7 separate regions of the Homo sapiens genome follow, and regions 1, 3, 4, 5, 6 and 7 are each linked to region 2. The links are contacts of gene promoters, found by promoter capture Hi-C in blood cells and fetal thymus (Javierre and others, 2016). All regions are on one chromosome and are shown on one strand. Each heading gives the region's core, a stretch centred on a gene start or on the middle of the fragment in contact. The rest is flanking DNA. Distances are from core to core; before and after follow the strand shown.

Region 1 (2,700 bases), core at 101-2,600, 490 kb after region 2:
GATGGAATAAAAATTAGAGATAGATATTTAATGAATCACCTTTGCTAAGAAGAATAAAATCCCAAGAAGCTACTAAAATCTCTTCAATTTAAAAATTGACAAATTCTGAATTATAAAATGCTAATCAGCAATGCTTCACATTTCCACAATGTATAAAACAGGCTAGAGGAAGACATTAGCTTAAACGGCTCTGGCTGTGTGTTAAAATACATTACTGTCTGTACATACCAGTTCTTTCGCTTCTTCAAGCTGTTTCTCCACATTTGCAACCATCTGTTTCTTTTCATCTGAAACAAACAATAATACCAAGAAATTGCTAAAGATACAAATAAATTTAATATTTTAAAACTTCAATTTTTATATGCCTTTTTCCTTTCTGGTCAATCAGATTACAGAACATAAGGCAAAAGAGCATATCATTCTTTGGTGGGTTTGAAACCACTTTAAGCCATTGATTCCAGGCTATCTAGAAACATATAATCTGATAGAATACCTAATTATTAAGAGACACCATTTTTAAGAGAGACCTATTTTTAAGAGAGACTAAAAATTATGTTGCCCTTTAGGAGAGACTAAGTCAACAAGAGCAGATTTGTGCTGGCCTAAGGAATCTGTGAAGTCATAACTTTAATAAATTGGGAATAACTGATTTGTTAATACAATTTAAAAGTTATATACAAAAACACTTCCTAAAACTGGGCAAAAACAATCCTTTAAAAAATTGTACTTTCAGTAGCATGGAGAATCAGGTGTAATGGAATAAATATTTGAAGTTAGGACTACTGATTCCAAACCGAAAGCTACTATCTCACTCAATGGTTATGGGATCCTGGGCAAGAAATTTTTCTCTTTTTTTCTGAGACTCACTCTGTACTCTCTAAAATGGAAATAAAAAATATCTACGGGATTACTTTTAGCTCCAATAAGCTTGATGCAAGTGAAATTACTTTAATATTATAAAGTGCTAAGTCTCTGTATGTGGTTTATTTTTCTAATACAATCAAGTTATAACCCAACTGTAATTCCCTTCTCTAGGAGAGACATGTCCTGGCAGACAATTTCAGAAAGCTTTCCCATACCCTCATTCCAGCCAGTCAGCCTATTTGTTCACATACCCTAGTTAAGTTTTGTGCAAACCAGATGTATTGAACATCTCTAGTTTTTGTCTGCCTAGCATGCTTCTCTTCTCAGGCAACAGCCCCTACTCTCTTCAAAGGCCTTCTTCCTCACCAAGCAGGACAATGAAAATGCTATCTCCATAAAGACTCTGCTTCTTCAGTCACAGTGACTTGGCAAATGACCGGCATCTAATCCTAGCTGGACTAATCTCAGTAACTCAATCCTCTGGCCACATTCATCTGGGAGTTGGGCGGTGGGATAGGCATATATGAACCAGAGAGAACAAAGTTCTAGAGCAAGGGGAAAGCCTTTTCCTTTCTCCTGGTAACGAAAAAATGAGCCTAGAAGCGCTGCTAGCATCCATTGGTCTAGCTCCAAGAAGAAAGCAAGCGTGCAATGGCTGAAAATAAAACCTGCATTTAAAAAGAAACACAACTGAGAGACAGAGAGAGAGAGATATAGTTAGTTCCTGGCTTGAAATAACTGAAATGGCTTGACTTTATAAAAGCTTGACTTTACCATAGTTTGGTTTCTTGAGCCAACAACTTTCTTGTTCTTTATTTAAAACTGGGTTTATGTCACATGGGAGCCTAATGAGACTGACTAACACAACAGACTAGAAAAGTCATGAAGCTTGAAATGGGTACAACACCTACCAGCTGACCAGCCTTCAGAAGGACAGCCAATCCTAAGTGGGGAAGCTTTAATAGAAATTATTATTTCACTGGCCGGGCGCGGTGGCTCACGCCTGTAACCTCAGCACTTTGGGAGGCCTAGATGGGTGGATCACAGGGTCAGAAGTTTGAGACCACCCTGGCAAACATAGTGAAACCCCGTCTCTACTAAAAATACAAAAAATTAGCTGGGTGTGGTGGTGGGCGCCTGTAATCCCAACTACTTGGGAGGCTGAGGCAGGAGAATTGCTTGAACCCGGGAGGTAGAGGTTGCAGTGAGCCGAGATCGCACCATTGCGTTCCAGCCTGGGCAACAGTGCGGGACTCTGTCTCAAAAAAAATAAAAATAAAAATAAAAATAAAAATAAAAATATATATATAATTATTTCACTAAAACAATGATTAGATTATTAGTAGATTCTACTAATCTTAACCCTTTCCCTTTGTTATCCCCAAACTACAGAGGGGGAACAGTTGTCACATAAGGTGTTTTATGTGTACTCACAATATTTCTCCCTAAGAAAAATAAGCCTTTGGGATTACAATTCAACTTGATTTTCCCTCCTTGAAAAGTTAAATCTACATATGGCCAGATTAAATATTTAATAGATGATCCCAAATGTATTTGCTTCTGGGACATTTCAACCCTTTTAGTATCTTCACACAGTTACAGTTAGAATAGACTACATTTTTGTGATAGAGAAAAATACAAAATAAGACAGGCTTATCTTGGATCAAAACTGAGATGGTGTATTTACGTATCAGGAGGAACATCCTGTTCTCTTTAAGGTATTCAGTTGATAGGAAAGTCCATGCCGTGGACCTCCAGGACTAATAAGCATCAGTTTTTCTCATTAGCAAAATAAAACAAAGAAAGAAGCCTCCCTTGACCTGTATTCCCCTTTGC
Region 2 (2,700 bases), core at 17-2,516:
TAAAGAGCCCTCCATCTTGCCTCTTGGCCGCTAACATGGCGGGGCGGCGAGGGGACAGCGGCGGCCGCGCGGAGCGGGAGAGAGTGAGGAGAAACTTTTTAGAAAGTGCCCCGAGGGGCCGGGCGCCCCGACCGGGCCGGCGCAGGGCCAGGCCGAGCCGGGCGCGGGGCCGGGGCGCGCGGGGCGGCCGGCCCGGGGGGCGGCTCCGGGCGGCTGCGGGGCGCGCGGGGCGTACTCACCTTCTTCCAAACTTTCCCGGGATTTGTCTCGGAAACTTTCGGAGCGAGGCGGAGGCCGTCTTTCCGCCTTCCCAGAGGGGTGGAGGTGGGGAGGGCGAGGGGCAAACGCCACGCAGAAGGGGGAGAAGGGGGAGAAAAAGAATCGGCGAGGTCGAGGGGGGGGTAGAAAAAAACAGGGTTACAAGTTTTTGCAATGGTGGCACCGTACGCACACGCCGCCCGCCGGGCCCCGCCGCCGCCCCCAGCCCCGATTTCTCCCCTTTCAGCAACATTTGCCAAGCCCAGGAAACAGATAAAAAACCCCACCAGCCCGAGGGGCTTTTCCTACCTCGGAATCGGAGGAGCTGTTTTGATTCGTTTCTGATTCATTGACTAGAGACGATTTGACATCAGCTAAATCCCTCTCTGCCGAGGAGTTTTCGGAGCTCTTCTCCTCCTGTTCGCCCTCGTCTTTGAAGGAAATCAGTTCGTCGTTGGCGCCTAGGTCATCCCCTCCACCGCCGTTCAGCTGCGGCATTTTTTTTTCACCCACCAGCAGCAATTTTGGAAGAAAAATGAAGGAGGAAGAAAAGCCAAAAAAAATCACCCCCAAAAAGTTTTGCCCCCCCAAAAAATATTGCAAGAAAAAGACGAGTCCAAGGTGAACTTTTTTCTGCTTGGGGGTCTTTTTCTCCTGGGGAGGGGAAAAGAGGGAGGAGGGGAGGGGAAGGGGGGGGAGATCTTCTGCACGCGTGAGTTTGGGTTTCTTTTTTCTCTCGTTCCCAAGGATCCGATCAATGTGCAAAAAAATAATAAATAAAAAAGGGGGGTAAAAAAAAAAAAAACACCAACAACAACAAGAAGTCAGATATAAAGAGCAAAGGGGGGGGGAAGCCGAAGATACAGGAGGTGCTCGTGCCGCTCGGATTTGAGTGAGTTGAAGTTAGACTGAGAGCTTTTCAGTTCAAAGGCGGCGCTGATTGACAGATAGAAAAAGGGGGATCGAAATCCGGAGGAACGGAGTAGTCTGGGAGCGGAGATTATTGACAGGGCGAGAGGAACACACTGCCTTAATGAGATGCCGGAGGGCGGGGCCGGCCCAGTGACGTGTGCATAAATAAACAGCCGGGGTGGGCGGGGCGGGGGCGGCTAACAATGATCCTTTCGGGCGCCGGGAGAGGGAGGAGGGAAAGAAGGAGGAAGAGAGGGGCGGGGAAGCCGGGGGGAGACGGAGGGAGGAGTGTGCAGGGGGAGCGGCCTGCGCGGAGTGTGTGCGAGCCCGGGATTCTGGGCGAGGGTGCAGGGACTTGCTCCGGGAGGGGGCGGTTTCAGAAAGACAATGCGGGGTGGGAGAGGAGGAGAAGGGGGTGGCGACCAAGTCAGGAATCCGAGCCGAGGAAGGCGGAAGGAAAGCCCACTTGGGGGGCGGGGATGGGGAGAGGCCCAAAACAGTGCACTTTAGAAATATTAGAAATAAGTCTTAAGGGAGGGGGAAAAGGAAGGGTAGTATTTGAGAAAGTGGTGGCTGGGGGAGGGGGTGGGGGGGTGCTTGGTGGTTAATTCAGCAGTGAAATCAGCCACCCTTAGACGGGATGCGACAAAAGTGGTCAAAAGGAAAGATCAACCCTCCACTTTCAGAGAGCTTGGGGAAGTGAAGGGGCTGGTCAAAGTTCCTGGTCATCTACAATGAAAGAAACTATTAACCCATGAGGCCTCCCTCCTCCCTTTTTTGTTTATTAGTAGTGAATCATTTCATGAAATGTTAAGTCCCACTAGGATGGATATGCCAAAACGACTTTTTATGCAAAAAACAAATGCTAAATGTCAGAAACATTAAAAGTATCCTTAAGGAAAAATATATGATTCTTTTAAATGTAGAGTGGTGTTTTGCTTTTTTTTTTTTTTTTTTAACTGACGTTGGAGGTAGTAGGAAATGAGCTAGAGTCAAAGTCCTTTTTGACTTAGGAGGTGAAAAGTTTGGGCGTTAACACCGTCAGGGAAAATAAAACTGAAAGTTCACCAACCCCTGGGATCAGTTGGGCTACAGTGTTTCTCGAAGGGGGTCTGAAATGAAATCCCCGAAAGACTGACCAAAATAATCAAGATGTAGGTGGCTCTGGCAGGAAATTGCTAACCAAACCGATGCTAGAAGACCTTCGGGAGAAGATGGGAAACCTGGGGCTTGAGGCAGGTATTTGTTGACTTTTAGGTATTAGAGGAGGAGCAGACTGATTTGCTACAAAATGGGGAATGGAATTATGTTAAAGAGGAAAGACCCAGCTCCCAAAACACAATGTTCCTGGGTGATAGAGCAAGAAAATTCATTTTTGCAAATACCCAGTAAGAAGTAGACTGGACACTACAACATGAAAAAGAGAAAAAAGAAAAAAATAAATCAGTAGGATTTAGCAAATTGCCTCTTAGGAGTAGTATTAGTCTAGAGTCCAGGATGTACTGTTGTCCCACCCTTCCCTGAAAAAGC
Region 3 (2,700 bases), core at 61-2,560, 500 kb before region 2:
GTTCAGACCATGTATAAAAATAGAACTTTGACCCACAACCTGCAGCAACCTCCTATCTACAACAAACAACCCAGGAAGCCAGTCTGCTGTAAGTCGGATTTATGGGAAGCCAGTTTGCTCTCTCTAGTGACAATCCAGGAAGCTAAACAGCAACCCCTGTAACAATCTGCCTCAAATAGATGGGACTTGATTAATAACTGACACTTCCCTAATTTTTGTCTCCACTTCCAACTTAAGGACCAACCAGAGAAAGCCAAATATGCACCCCAACCAATCAGATAGGATGCCCCCTTTCTAGTTATCCCACACACAGCTCCCCAAAACCAACAGCCTCAAATCTGCACACACCTGAGGCTTCCCTTTTCTCTCTATAAAGCTTTCCCACTCCCCTGGCCTGCCCTTGAGTCTTTGCAAAGGGTGGTGGCTGACTCCCTTGCTATAGCAAGCTCTGAATAAATAGGCTTTGCTTCCCTCACTTGGTTGGTCTTTGTTTATTTCATGCACCTTTCTAGATATTTGTAGAATAAACAATTTCAACCAACTAATGGAATCACCTACTTTCCTGACACATCAGTCAGTGACTGGGTGACTGTCAGCTGCTCCTTCCTTCACATGGCTCTATCCCAGGGCTGTTCCATGATGGTTTCACTGAGGTCTAGAGAGGCCTGAGAGTCAGCATCAGGACCCACTTGGGGGCACAAATGGCATTTGTGGTTAGTGTCCATTATGCTTGCTTGATGCCTTTGCCCGATCTAGTGGTGCCCACCCTGGACTGGTTGTTAAATGATTTGGATATACTGTCCTTCCCACCAGCCCCCGAGCTAAATTGTTGCCATCCTCCTGGCCCAGTTCAACACCATGCTTCTTACTGAAAATTACCATGGAGGATGAATAGTTGTGGGTTGGCTTCTAATCTCAGCACTCACTAGAAGGGCAAGGCACACCCTCGCCCTGGTCCTGTCTCTGCTGCTGTAATATAAGGATTGGATTAAATAATTTTTCTTCCATCCATATCTCACCCTGCCCATCTCTTCCCAGCCCTCATGCATGTTGGGCCTTACAGAAGTCTCAGTCTCAATGGGCTCACCCTTTGGAGAAGGAGGGTGAATTGAGCAAGTGGCATTTCCACTGCCCGGCTGAGCAGAGGCAAATCCAAGGCAGAATCAAGTTCCTGTTTTTCTGCTGTTCCAAATGGTACCATTTAGGCACCACCAACCCTGAGGCTGCCACGCCCTTCGTTATAATTCACAGCTCACAGACTTGATTCCCCTGAGAACACGTTTTTAAAATTGAATGAATCCAGAGTTCACATATGTTGCCTGAATGCGACATTGTGTAATACCTTTTTCCCCCTAACCGTCCAGCCCCCGATTCCCTTAAGAAACTCATTCTCATTGAGTGGCATTAAAAAACAAAACAAAACAAAATCCTCACTCCCACCTAGAGGCCTAGGTCCTGGGGAGCCAGCGCGGAGGAGAGGTTGTCTCCTCTAAAGTTCAGAAATAAAAATGACTTTCTCCTTTCAGCTGCTGTTCCCTGATGTGACTCTGTGATCAGTATCAAATGCTCGGTAGCAAGGATTTCTGTAGAGCCTTCTCAGCTAAAATAGATTTAACCTGCCCGTTGCTCTTTGTCAGAGAACAATGCGTGTAACAATAAGGAGCTGCTATATTGTTCATGCATGAATAGTCCCGATTCCAGATATTTGCTGTTGGGCCCTGTAGATTACCTGCAAAGAACGTCTGGCTCCCTCTGTTGAGAAAGGTTAGGCTACAGGCAAGCACTCCAGGCTGTTTCATGGTAATGAATCAATAGGGGAATGCAATTAATGAAGTCCTATTTCAAAATGGTAGGGAGTCACCTTTTGAAATGGGGTCTGTCTTCTCCAGCCTAATTGCACAGCCCAGGGTGTCTCCAGTTTGAATGGGTCAACTCCACCTGTGAGCAGGGGTTAGGGGCTGGCAGGAGGAGGCAGAGGATGGCAAGCCAGGTTGCTTTGGAGGCTTACTTGGGCAAGCTCTGGAGGAAATGAAACCCATATGGGTGTTATTAACATGTGGCTTGGAACCAGGCAAGCAACAGAGGCACACTGGAAGGGCAAGAGTGTCTTCTGAGTTTCCCATCCTGTTTTTCAGCTGGACAAAATCTTGGTCATCAGGACTCCCACTATGTGGCTACAGATTGAGTATTTGAGAACCCATGACTAGTGCACCGTGGTGTAGGCAGAGAAAAACCCAAGCTTCAGGTCTGGTCTGTCTGAACTCCAACTATTAACCAGCAGTGTGACCTTAGGCAAATGATTTAACCTCACTAGGCACCCCTTGTCTCATCTGGCAGACATGAATATCATCACCGCTTCCCCGCAGGGTTCTTACAAGGAAATATGTTTCCCCAGTAGGAACTCAATCCATGGATGCGGCACACGTTGCTAGTTGGCCTATAGCTGTCCTTCCCTTCTTCCTTACCAAGAGAATCCCAGTTTTGTTCATGACCACAATGTATTCATCCAAGAATAACCCAATTTCTAGCATCCTTTGTAGTTGGGATAGCCACATGACATAGTTCTGGTCAATGAAAATGGGTATTTGCTGGGTAAGTCTTCCTGGAAAGCTGTTATTTCCTCGATTTTGTTTTTAAAGCAGATTTCACAAAGGTCTTTTCTTTTTCTAAGCCCTCTTCTTCCTTCCTGGAATGCAATCA
Region 4 (2,700 bases), core at 172-2,671, 470 kb after region 2:
GCGTGAACCACCGCGCCCGGCCAATAGTGACTTCTAAATGTTGCCGGGTGTGTCAGTTATTAGAAGCTAGGGAAGAAATGGGAAGGAAATCCAAAGTAATCCAATGTGTATTATGAACTCTAGATAAAAACTCAGTGCAAATATAACTCTAAATAGTAATATAATACAATAATAAAATGATATAAAATAATATGTAATATCATATTTCTTCTTCCTTTAATTCTGACTCTACTATCATAGAGTGATTAATTTCTAAGATGTTTTCTACAAAACAAAATGTGCTAGAATACAAAAGCTATCCAATTCAGAAGGTCATATTCAAGAATGAGATGGAAGATTTCATATTTTAATCCTTTGTGTACGCTCCCACAGTTAGCGCTCTGAAGCAACGCAGAAGAGGGTTTACATTTTCAGGATATTTAAGAAATTTTCTGACCTTGAGATACGTTAGCCTCTAACCTCTTTAATTATAGCATTACCACTTGTTCACAGGAAAGTCACTGACTAAAAAGCAGTGCAGTTCTCCAAGTGTTTTAACATTATCTATTTGACCCTCGCATTTTCCCATTAGGTGGGCAGAGTTGGTATTAGAATCCAGATTTGCAGATAAGGAAACTGAAGCACAGAATGAATATGCCACATGTCCAAGGCCTCCAATCTACACTGCCTGGGCTTTTCTGACTATTTCACTTTCTCTTTTGGTAGTATGGTCAAATTTCGCTTGCACACAATATTAGAAAAGTATAGGATTCACTACTTCTAGCAATCTAATAATATATACATAATATTTTTGAAGTATAAATAGAACATTCAACTAGGAGCCCAGGATCATACAAAGATGAAATGGTTAGCACTGAACCACATTCATTCAAAAAAGTAAAAAATTTTAAACTTCACTGAAACTAAAATGAATATAAATCTGCAAGATGCTAGCTATGAGGATAGTAATTTTCTCCTAAGCTTTACTTTAAAAATTACATTTCCATAAGTAAGACAACTCTAGCCTTACTTCAGATGAATTTTTTGTAGACTAGGTTTGTAGAAAAAGGTCAAAATAAGAAAACAATGAAACAAAAAAGTCAGTCATTCAATATGCAAAGATGCAATACTCCATTATGAAAATCAAAAGGTATCAGATAAAAAATTCAGAAGAGATTAACAAAGGGCATCCTTGTTTTAAAGTACAAAATACAGTTTTAAGGAACTCATTTGATTTCTATAATCAGACATTTCACACCAAGGCCAATGCCATGCAATGTGACTTTCCAAAGCATAAAATCTAACACTCTTTCTCCATTTTAATAATGCAATTGCAGGTCAAATTCTTCATGACTAATAAAAGAAGTCTTCATTTCACAGTACATTTCCAAGTCCAAGACAGTGGTAACTTGTTTAAATAATACTTAACAGAACCAAATGGAGAATGAGAAAATTTGGACATTTCCTTAGAATCTTCTTTGATGGAGCTTGACCTGTAATAGCTTTGGTGTATTTGCAAAGATGAGGAGCCTCAAGAACTAATAAAATGCACTGAGGATGGAGTCACGTTTCTAGAGGTTTCCCAATATGATCGCACTTAAGCATTTCAGAGGCATTTCTAGCAAAGGCTTTTTAATCCATGATCTGATGAACTTCTTAAAAGAAAAGCCAAAAGCACAATTTGACTGCACAGTTGTTATTTGTTTTTACTCCTAAAACATAGTTCATCCAGTTTTGGGAACTAAAGGACACAAAGTCAAACAAAACAATATAAGCAAAAAATGAGACTATTTGTACACATGGTCCATTCTCTGCTAGGTTTATGAGGACTTGAAATCATCAGAAAAGTCTCTGGCAAAATCTATTCTAGTCCCAATTTAACTTCTTGTATAAGAAAGCTTAAAATAGTTGACATAGCAAAACTCAACCACTATTACACAGTTTAAAAATCTTCACCCTAGAGATCAGATCTGGCTCAGTCTTTACCACCACCAGCTAAACTCACCTAAAAGCTATATGCTAAGTCAAAAGTGCCTAACCCATTTTAAATTTTGTTCCACATCTCACAAATGTGGAACTGGGTAAAGCCAATAAGAATGGTATGAAAGCAACTGAAGACTTATGAAAAAAGAAATGAGACACTGGAATCATGATGTGTCATTTCAAATTGCTACCTTACTTCAGTTTGGCAAAGCACAAAATTGACACACTTTATTCAAATACTTTTGTAACCCTAGGGCCAAAGTATGAAATCTTCTAGTTCAGTTTGTGGTATTAAATTGTGAGTTTCAAGAATTCTAGAACGTAAGTAAGCCTTAAGAGGACAATGAACATGTGGACATCACTACCATACTGAGCCATCACCTTAAGGCCTCTGTTCCCTTCAGCAACATCACTACCACAGCATCACTGTTTCTTCTTTAATGTTTGATATTCTACCAGGAGAGTGACTAGCAAGTACGTTCATAAAAGGCATTTCATTTAAAAATCAATTAGCTACTTTTCTTTCCAAGTAATAGTATACCATACATGAAAAATGAGAGTGACTCAAAGGGAAAGCCAAGGAAAAGGTTTGTCTTTTAAACTATGCAGTACTTTTCCCAGGGAAATTAAACGGAGATTCCACTAGTCTTGATAACACAGTTTCTGGCCATATATTTGCAGAATATTGGACTACTGTTGACCATGGGACAGTCTGTAAGCAACCACTAAAAAGTTTAC
Region 5 (2,700 bases), core at 183-2,682, 440 kb before region 2:
CTAAAGGAAGCACCTTTGAAGTCTAACACTGTCATTCTCAAAATGGGTCCCCTGATTAGCAGCAACAGCATCACCTGGGAACTTGTTAGAGCTGCATAGTCTTGGACCCTGTCACCCCAGAACCTACTGAATCAGAAGTGGGCTTCTGCGATCTGGAGTTTAACATGCCTTCCAGGTGATTCCAGCGCATGTTCAAGTTTGAGAAGCATTCATCAACATACGAGTCTTCTACAGAGTGAATGACTGTCAGCTCAGGTCAGGAATATGCACAGCTTCAGCAAGCGAGACAGGGGTGTTGTCCCAAGGGAGAAAAGAGGTCTAGATAATACAACCTGATGGAGGCCAAAAATACCCCTCCCTATTTACTTCGTATTCAACTATGGAGCTCTGATAAAAATCATTAAATATTAAGAGGGCACTTCAAGCTTCTTTGGTACCCCTCAATTAAGTTTATTTTCCAACCCACAGAATGTAACACAGTAGCATGATCTACTTGTCATTCCCACAGCCTTGGGAATTGCACCTAGTGAGTTTCAGACAAAATTCCATTTTGTTCATAGCTGGCACGTGAGCTGAGTCTCCAGCTTGACCAACTGTTTCTTCCTAATTGGACTGTTTCCATATGCCTAGACATTTTAAATAGCAGTCTCCAGAAATAGTCGGGTGCTGAAAACTTGGGTTCAAATAGAGTCCTGGCCCAAGAAAAATTAATGATAGGCCAACCACCTGTACCTTCTTAAAAATGGTAGAAAAATAATCGATACATCAAAAAGTAGGAAAGGGCTCTCTCCTTGTACCCCATCTCCACTACTCTGGGAAAAATACTAAAAATCAAGAAAAACAACACTCGGGTGTGAAACAGATTATGAATCAGCTGGAGGCAAAGAAGTTGCAGTTCTATCCAATTACACAAATTTAATTGGGTGTTAAAAAAAATCCTAGGTCACAACAGTACTTTCTTGGCCAGACAGAGGTCTGTACTGAGAGTGAGTAGCACCTCTATTTGTTAGGAATTGTGATTTCGGGCTGGGGAGGGAAAGCATCACACATTGCTTAGAGTACCCCAAGATGGGCGCCATTTTGACTTTGAGGAATCTGAAGCCTGGTTTGGATGGTAAAGACTTCAAAGTTCTTCTCTGGGACTTAAGAAGGCACGGTCTGAAGCAAGTCCCTCCAAATTCTTTTAGACCATGGGCTACTAGGGAAAGTCCTATATTCAGTCTCTCCCACTCACTTCTTGTAAATCTCAAATCAACATCCAAATATGTAAAAAACTGCACACAACTAGAATGTCTAACTGTGAGAGAAAGGTTGAGAGACTTACGCTACATGGATAACATGGTGACCAGTGAGGCCAGCATAAACATTCATGAAGAATTTCTAATGGCAGGGAGAAATGCCTGTGATCGAGTGTTTAAAAATGTAGGGTACACGATTGTGGTATGGTGTGTTCTCATCAATGTCCAAAAGGACATAGAAAAGTAGCCCGAATTCATAAGTGATTTCCATTCAACGATGGATTGACAGGCAATGGTATTTTCTCTATCTTGTTTTATTGCATTTTATAAAATGCCACAACTTCATGTATTATTAATGTATTATTAATTTCTTTTTTTTTTTTTTTTGAGACAGAGCTTCACTCTTATTGCCCAAGCTGGAGTGCAATGGCATGATCTCGGCTCACTGCAACCTCTACCTCCCAGGTTCAAGTGATTCTCCTGCCTCAGCCTCCCGAATAGCTGGGATTACAGGCACCCACCACCACGCCCAGCTAATTTTTGTATTTTCAATAGAGACAGGGCTTTACCCTGCTGGCCAGGCTAGTCTGTAACTCATGACCTCAGGTGATCCACCTGTCTTGACCTCCCAAAGTGCTAGAATTACGGGCATGAGCCACCGTGCCTGGCCTATTATTTTTTACACAGAAACAATAAGTTTAATTTAAACAAATTTGCTCCTAGTTAGATGTGCCACTTTAATTTGACTGGTCTGTCCTCTGTACCTGGCTCACACTTTTTTCTTTCAAACCCTCTTCTCCAAGCCATTCCTTCACCTGGCATAGTCTCCTTGCTCCTCTCTGCCTATAAAAACTTTCTCCATCCTTCAGCCTATTGGGTCCCCTATTCTTCCATGGAAGCCAATGGGACCATTCCAGTTGTACAGCATCCCCTCTTCTGAACTCCTGTACCACTGTTTCACCTACACCATTTGGGAAGCCTTGGAATGTGAGAATATTTTACTATCAGCATGTCATGGGGCCCAGGCATCAGTACTTTTTAAAACTCCCTAGGTGATTCTGGTATGTAGCCAGGATTGAGAATCACTCTAATCAAGTCAAAAGTCACCTCCTATCTATACAGTAACCATCTGTCCCAGATTTTCTGTGCCAATTCTAATTCGAATGTCTGTCATCGATCCCACATAAACCATAGAAGCTTCACAGAAATCCCAACGTTCCAGTGCTTAACTGTCATTATTATTATTATTATAACCATATTAACCATGTCTCTGAGATGCACTTGGATACCAGACCCACATTACAGTTTTTTGATTGGTTCAGATATATTTGTTTTGAGTTCCACAGGGATTTAGAAAAAAAAAAAAAAAGACACCAAATTAAATTTGTGTTTCAGATGAACAATAAATACTTTTTAAGGATGCATATAGCCCAAATATTGCATGGGAGATACTTATCCTAAA
Region 6 (2,700 bases), core at 193-2,692, 440 kb after region 2:
AGGCATAAAACAATTGAAAATATGTCATCTGCAGCAACAGGATGGAACTGGAGGTGGTTCTCTAAAGCAAAGTAAGCCAGGCACAAAAAGACAAATATTACATGTTCTCACTTATATGTGGGAACTAAAAAATTTGATCACATGGAGGTAGACGGTGGAAATATAGGTAACAGGGTCTGGGAAAGTTGAATTAGGAGGAGGAGGAGGGAGGATGAAGAGAAGCAGGTTAAAGGGTGCAAACATTCAGTAAGATGGAACAAATTCAACATCTGACAGCAGAGTAGAGTGAATATACTTAACTTGGGTGGTAGCACCGTAAATAACCTGAATTGAACACTATGCATTATACAAATATGTAAAAAATCTCACATGAGCCAGGCACGGTGGCTCATGCCTGTAATCCCAGCACTTTGGGAGGCCGAGGTGGGCAGATCATGAGGTTGGAGATCTAGACCATCCTTGGCCAACATGGTGAAACCCTGTTTCTACTAAAATACAAAAAATCAGCTGGGCGTGGTGGTACACGCCTGTAGTCCCAGCTACTTGGGAGGCTGAGGCAGGGGAATCACTTGAACCCAGGAGGCGGAGGTTGCAGTGAGCCGAGATCATGCCACTGCACTCCAGCCTGGTGACAGAGCAAGACTCTGAAAAAGAAAAAAAAAAAAAAACCTCACATGTATCCCATACATTTGTACAGATTAAATAAATAAATAAGCAAATGGAGCAAAACGCTAACAAAAGGTAAACCCCGGTAGAGAGTGTATGTTCTTCTTTGTACTACTTTGTACTTTTCAGCAAGTTTGAGATTATTTTCAAATACAAAGCTTAAAATGATCTAAAAATGAAAAGATTAGCAAAAAAGGGGGCAAAGGTCCCTGGTAAGCTAATTTTCAACAAGTAACTAATGTCTGAGATTAGTGAATATCAAATAAATCCTTGAAGAAATGATAGCTAATGTTAAACAAAAACATAAGACCATGATTCCTTTCAAATTCAGGCAATTTAAACTTTTATCCCATATGATGGTGTTTTCCTTTTTTAGCAATAAAATATGAGACTTTATTTTACAGTTTTAAATTAGCAACATACTTTTATTTTTTATTTCACCAATTAGTATGGATTCCAAATCATCCATGGTCAGAGAAGTTCAAAGTTATCAGTTCAAAATAAAAGAGTATTCCATAGCATTTAAAACTATTTGGCAATGAAGTATGAATTCTTTTTCTCTTTCGTTTAACTATAATTGTTTTTGTGGTGGTGGTGGTGGTGGTGGTTTTTTTGAGTCAAAGCCTCACTGTCGTCCATGCTGGAGACCAGTGGCACAGTCATAGCTCACCGAAGCCACAACCTTCCAGTCTCAACCAATCCTTCCACCTCAGCCTCCTGAGTAGCTGGTACTACAGGTGCATGCTGCTACAATCTGCTAACTTTTTAATTATTTTTTTAGAGATGGGGTCTTGCTATGTTGCCCAGGCTGGTTTTGAACTCCTGGCCTCAAGCAATCCCCCATCTCAGCCTCCCGAAATGCTGGGATTACTTCCATAAGCCACCACACCAGGTCCACTTTATTCTAAATAAAAAGTTTTTGGGACAACAATTCTAAATTAGATTGCTTAACAGATAAGAATAAATGCCAGATTGATGTTTATACAAAAATGCCTAGAGGAACTTAATGCAAATCTCACTGGAATGCTTCAGCACTAACCAAAGATCTTTTACCGTGCTCTTAGGTCATTGTCAAATGTTCTTGAAGAGAATACACACTTTCAGGTAGACATGTGCCCAGTAAACTTTAACTCGATTTGGCAACTAAGATATTGCTGATCTGTCTAATTTTGACTGTGATAGCACTGGACAGGGATTGAATGTAATTCTAGTCCTTGCAAAGAACACAGAAGATTTTGGCGTTCTATAAATATGCAATAATAATGGGACCTTAGGGCTAGAAGGGACCTTGAGAGGTCCTTTAGGGTGCCTTGCTCCCTCACAGCATCTTACACTGAATGTATCTTAAAAAGACCTCAGGAAGGAGGTCCCTTACCTTTCACAAAGAAGCTTACCAACCATCACTGGTTACTGGCAGGAATGATTTTTCCAAATTAAACTTAAACCTATGTTCTGCAGTTGCACATGCAGTAGAGATCAATAAACAGCTGCTGACCATATTTGGCATAATAGCTCTTCACAGACGTGAGGACTCTTAACAACTCTACAACTCTCCAACCAGGGAAAATGATCCCAGGACTTTTCTTCATCCATCTAATTTTCCAACTCCTCTGACAGGCACTCCCCAGAATTTTCTCTGAATTATCTTTGGGCATGGTAGCCCCAGTTAGACCCAGAGATGAACATTAGTAAACTCTTCCAGAGTCTCACATGAACCACAGGGCATTCAATCTTAACGCCTGATATGTAAACTGGAAGAGGTCATTCTTTTTTCTTTTTCTTATTTTTGCTCTAATTATATTTCACATTGTAAATGCACCTTAATTTTTAATTGAGTTTTGGGGCTACTTTCTACCACTCCTTTAAATTTGTTTTCTTGGCTGGTATTTTCTTGCCTTTAGAAGAAACAATATTATAAAGTAGAAAGGCCTCGGATTTGGGCAACTGATGAGCCTGGGTTCAAATTCCAGCTTTGTCTTTTAAGCGGTGATTAAGAACTCATATGGACTTCAGGTCTAGCTAAGATAAAGTTAA
Region 7 (2,700 bases), core at 200-2,699, 420 kb before region 2:
TCACTAGGTCTTGGGCTACCTGGAGACACCACATAGTACCATGAAGTACCACAAAGGAAGGACTGTTGTTGGAAATATTGGAGCACAAGTCAGGAGTTGGGAGAGATATTTGGGGGCTGGTGGGCCATCCAGTGGCCCTTTGGTAGAGAGCCACATCTGGAACCCCCAATATTCTCACCAGTGTGGTGATAAACAAATCTTGTCCTTATGATCACAAGTCCTACAGAAATAATTCCATCTGAGTGTGCAGGGTTAGGCCTGAGTGCTGGATGTTACAGCTATAACCGGTGGATTCTCCTTTGCATCTGTCAAACATTTAACACCTGGAGAAGCAACCAGATGAATCCTCCTGACTAACAACTTGTCTGTCTAAACCAGGCTCCCAAGTAAAATAATCTAGCTTGAACTCTCTGGGCCTCAGTGTTCTCCTTTGTAAAATGAAGGGGTGGTACTAGAATCCCTTTCCAATGGGGAGGTTGCATGAATCTCTACACACAGAGAGGGTAGGATCACCCACTGATTTCTTTTTTAGAGAGAGATGAGATCTCACTATGTTGGCCAGGTTGGTCTTGAACTCCTGGCCTCAAGCAATTGTCCCACCTCAGCTTCCCCAAGTGCTGGGATTACAGGGATGAGCCACCATGCCCTGCCCTCACTCAGTGGTTTCTGAAGACAGAAGGAGAGAGTTCAAATGTAAGTTCTGCCACTTACTAGCTGTCCATACCTGGGAAATATACCTCTAACCCTAAATATCAATTTCTAATCTGTAAATGAAGAACAGTGACAGCGCCCACCTGGTAGGGGCCTCCCAGGGCTTAAATGATCATATTAAATGCTCAGCACAATGTGCCCAACACACAGTAGGTGTGCAATGAGTGTTAGAGTCTTTCAGATCTCCCTGAAATGGATCCGTCTTGCAGATTATCACAGCCACCCGCAACACCCTATGACACACATACAGAATGACTTGATGTCCTTGATAAATGTTGCTTTTATTAATTAACTCTGTGTGAGGGAAAACTGAAGCAAAGGGATGGAGGGTGTAGGAGTAAAACCTCCAGAGCTGTGAAAAATTCCTGAGTTATTATCCAAATAATCTGGTGGCTTGGCAAAAAGAAAAGGAGAAAAAAATCCCTTACCAAGCACATATTCTGCTGGTTTTCAAACGCGAGTGTGTATTTCAATGGCAATTTAATCCATGTGTTTCTTAGTCTTCTGTACTTAAACTATCAAAGTATTGTTTGAAAATAATAATTTGATGTCCAATAAACAGTCTTTCCTTTTGAGTTTCCCATGCAACCACCTGTGTGATTGTTCCCTGAAAGGTGAGTAGCCCAGTTGAGTCTCAAGGTGCCTACCTACCCATACCTGAGCAGCTGTCCTTATGACCCTCTCCTCTTGGTTAAGATGGACCGGTGTGGTCATTTGACCTGGGGTGACCATCCATGGCCCCCTCTGAGCATGACTTAAAGAGATGTGCTTAGCCAATCTTTCTGTTGGGGATATGAACAAAGTGAGACAGAATGAAACTGCTAGTGAGCTATGGGTGCTAGAGTTGCATGGTTATGTCAATACCAGGCTAGGGGCATAATGGTCTATTTTAGTGTATTCCCACGGAAGTAGAACCTTGAGTCTATTTGGGAGGTGGTCCCAGAAAATACTGATTAGGAAATGGGAAAGTGGGACAGGACAGGGTAGGAGCCAATGAAACACATTTTCACTGTGGGGTAGCCTTGCTGGGGAACTCTGAGAGTCAAAGCAGAACATGTGCTTCAGAGTTATCTTGGCCAAGGGGTGAGGGAGTTGGGGTATTTATCCTTTAACTGCTATCAGTTGTTGGTCGAGAACTGCTTGAAGGGGTGTTAGTTCCCTAGCACTACTGGCCTGCCCTGTAAGAAAGCCCTCAGCAAAGAGTCACAAGTATTGGCAGTTAAGCCATGAACTATTGTGCCCAGAAGTGATGAGTGTTGACGGCATTTGTGCAAGGCACTGACAGCACCTCTACATGGGCTTGCATGAAACAGAATCTCCAATAGAGAGAGAGATAATAGAACAGAACATCAGTAATGGCACAGAAAAGAATGGGAAGCAGGAGTGGAGAGAGAGAGAGGAGGCCCTTCATTCCTTTCCTACTTCAAACCTAATAGTTCAACTTTTTCTAGATTCCCATGAAGACTCTGTATCTTTACACCCCCTCCACCCCACCCCCATTTCCTTGAGCCAGTTAGAATGGATTTCTGTTTCTTGTTCAAGAAAGAAAGAATTTTCCTATCCTTGCATTACCAGCAATCACAGAGATTCAGAATCTCAGAGAAGATACCCTAACTTCTTCATCCCATCACATTAGTAGCCGTTTTGGTTGCAAGCAACAGAAACGAACACTGATGAACTTAGCAACAAAAAAAATGAATCTACTGGAAGGATTTGAGGTACACAGTGGGGGAGAGGAAAGCCACAGAACCCAGCTAGGGATGGATAGGAACCAGATATAAGGTCTCTGTGGCAGGAACCCCTTGATCTTCTCATCTGGGCATTGCTACTGTAAAGAAGGAGCACCAACCATTTGTTCATTCTGCCATTCAGTCAGGATTCAGAGGCGAGGGCCCAGCTAGCCAAACTTAGGTCCACCATTGCTTGGCTCTACTGGGCAGTAAGATAAAATGCCTGCAGAGGGTTCTTCAGAAGGAGTGAGAATTCCTG

The links. The method cuts DNA at HindIII sites, captures the fragments that hold promoters and counts their contacts. A CHiCAGO score of 5 or more calls a contact.
Region 1: a fragment that was not itself captured here is called in contact with the fragment with the promoter of TCF7L2 in region 2 in 1 of 17 cell types (fetal thymus); the score reaches 5.1 in fetal thymus.
Region 3: a fragment that was not itself captured here is called in contact with the fragment with the promoter of TCF7L2 in region 2 in 2 of 17 cell types (M1 macrophages and M2 macrophages); the score reaches 8.2 in M1 macrophages.
Region 4: a contact is called between a fragment that was not itself captured here and the fragment with the promoter of TCF7L2 in region 2, in 5 of 17 cell types (endothelial precursors, M1 macrophages, fetal thymus and 2 more). The highest score is 11.7, in endothelial precursors.
Region 5: a fragment that was not itself captured here is called in contact with the fragment with the promoter of TCF7L2 in region 2 in 5 of 17 cell types (M1 macrophages, M2 macrophages, M0 macrophages and 2 more); the score reaches 13.7 in M1 macrophages.
Region 6: a contact is called between a fragment that was not itself captured here and the fragment with the promoter of TCF7L2 in region 2, in 1 of 17 cell types (endothelial precursors). The highest score is 6.5, in endothelial precursors.
Region 7: a contact is called between a fragment that was not itself captured here and the fragment with the promoter of TCF7L2 in region 2, in 5 of 17 cell types (fetal thymus, M2 macrophages, M0 macrophages and 2 more). The highest score is 7.8, in fetal thymus.

The regions. Positions count from the first base shown.
Region 1 is chr10:112,458,111-112,460,810 of GRCh38, reverse strand. It overlaps VTI1A (vesicle transport through interaction with t-SNAREs 1A), which reads right to left. Exons shown (of 8, transcript NM_145206.4): 2 at 229-287. Among named protein-coding and RNA genes, the nearest start is that of VTI1A, 12 kb to the right of the region's middle. The HindIII fragment of the contact is 559 bases long and covers 1,071-1,629 here.
Region 2 is chr10:112,948,813-112,951,512 of GRCh38, reverse strand. It overlaps TCF7L2 (transcription factor 7 like 2), which reads right to left and starts at 1,266. Exons shown (of 15, transcript NM_001367943.1): 1 at 568-1,266; 2 at 240-306; 3 at 1-30. The coding sequence starts at 756. It overlaps LOC124902502 (a long non-coding RNA gene), which reads left to right. Exons shown (of 2, transcript XR_007062291.1): 2 at 506-884. The HindIII fragment of the contact is 8,187 bases long and covers 1-2,700 here.
Region 3 is chr10:113,444,343-113,447,042 of GRCh38, reverse strand. No RefSeq gene overlaps it. Among named protein-coding and RNA genes, the nearest start is that of HABP2, 110 kb to the left of the region's middle. The HindIII fragment of the contact is 1,863 bases long and covers 379-2,241 here.
Region 4 is chr10:112,476,209-112,478,908 of GRCh38, reverse strand. All of the region lies in intron 3 of VTI1A (vesicle transport through interaction with t-SNAREs 1A), which reads right to left. Among named protein-coding and RNA genes, the nearest start is that of VTI1A, 30 kb to the right of the region's middle. The HindIII fragment of the contact is 917 bases long and covers 963-1,879 here.
Region 5 is chr10:113,391,944-113,394,643 of GRCh38, reverse strand. No RefSeq gene overlaps it. Among named protein-coding and RNA genes, the nearest start is that of HABP2, 160 kb to the left of the region's middle. The HindIII fragment of the contact is 2,010 bases long and covers 428-2,437 here.
Region 6 is chr10:112,509,214-112,511,913 of GRCh38, reverse strand. The region is part of intron 3 of VTI1A (vesicle transport through interaction with t-SNAREs 1A); the gene reads right to left. Among named protein-coding and RNA genes, the nearest start is that of VTI1A, 63 kb to the right of the region's middle. The HindIII fragment of the contact is 1,231 bases long and covers 827-2,057 here.
Region 7 is chr10:113,371,960-113,374,659 of GRCh38, reverse strand. No RefSeq gene overlaps it. Among named protein-coding and RNA genes, the nearest start is that of HABP2, 180 kb to the left of the region's middle. The HindIII fragment of the contact is 6,058 bases long and covers 1-2,700 here.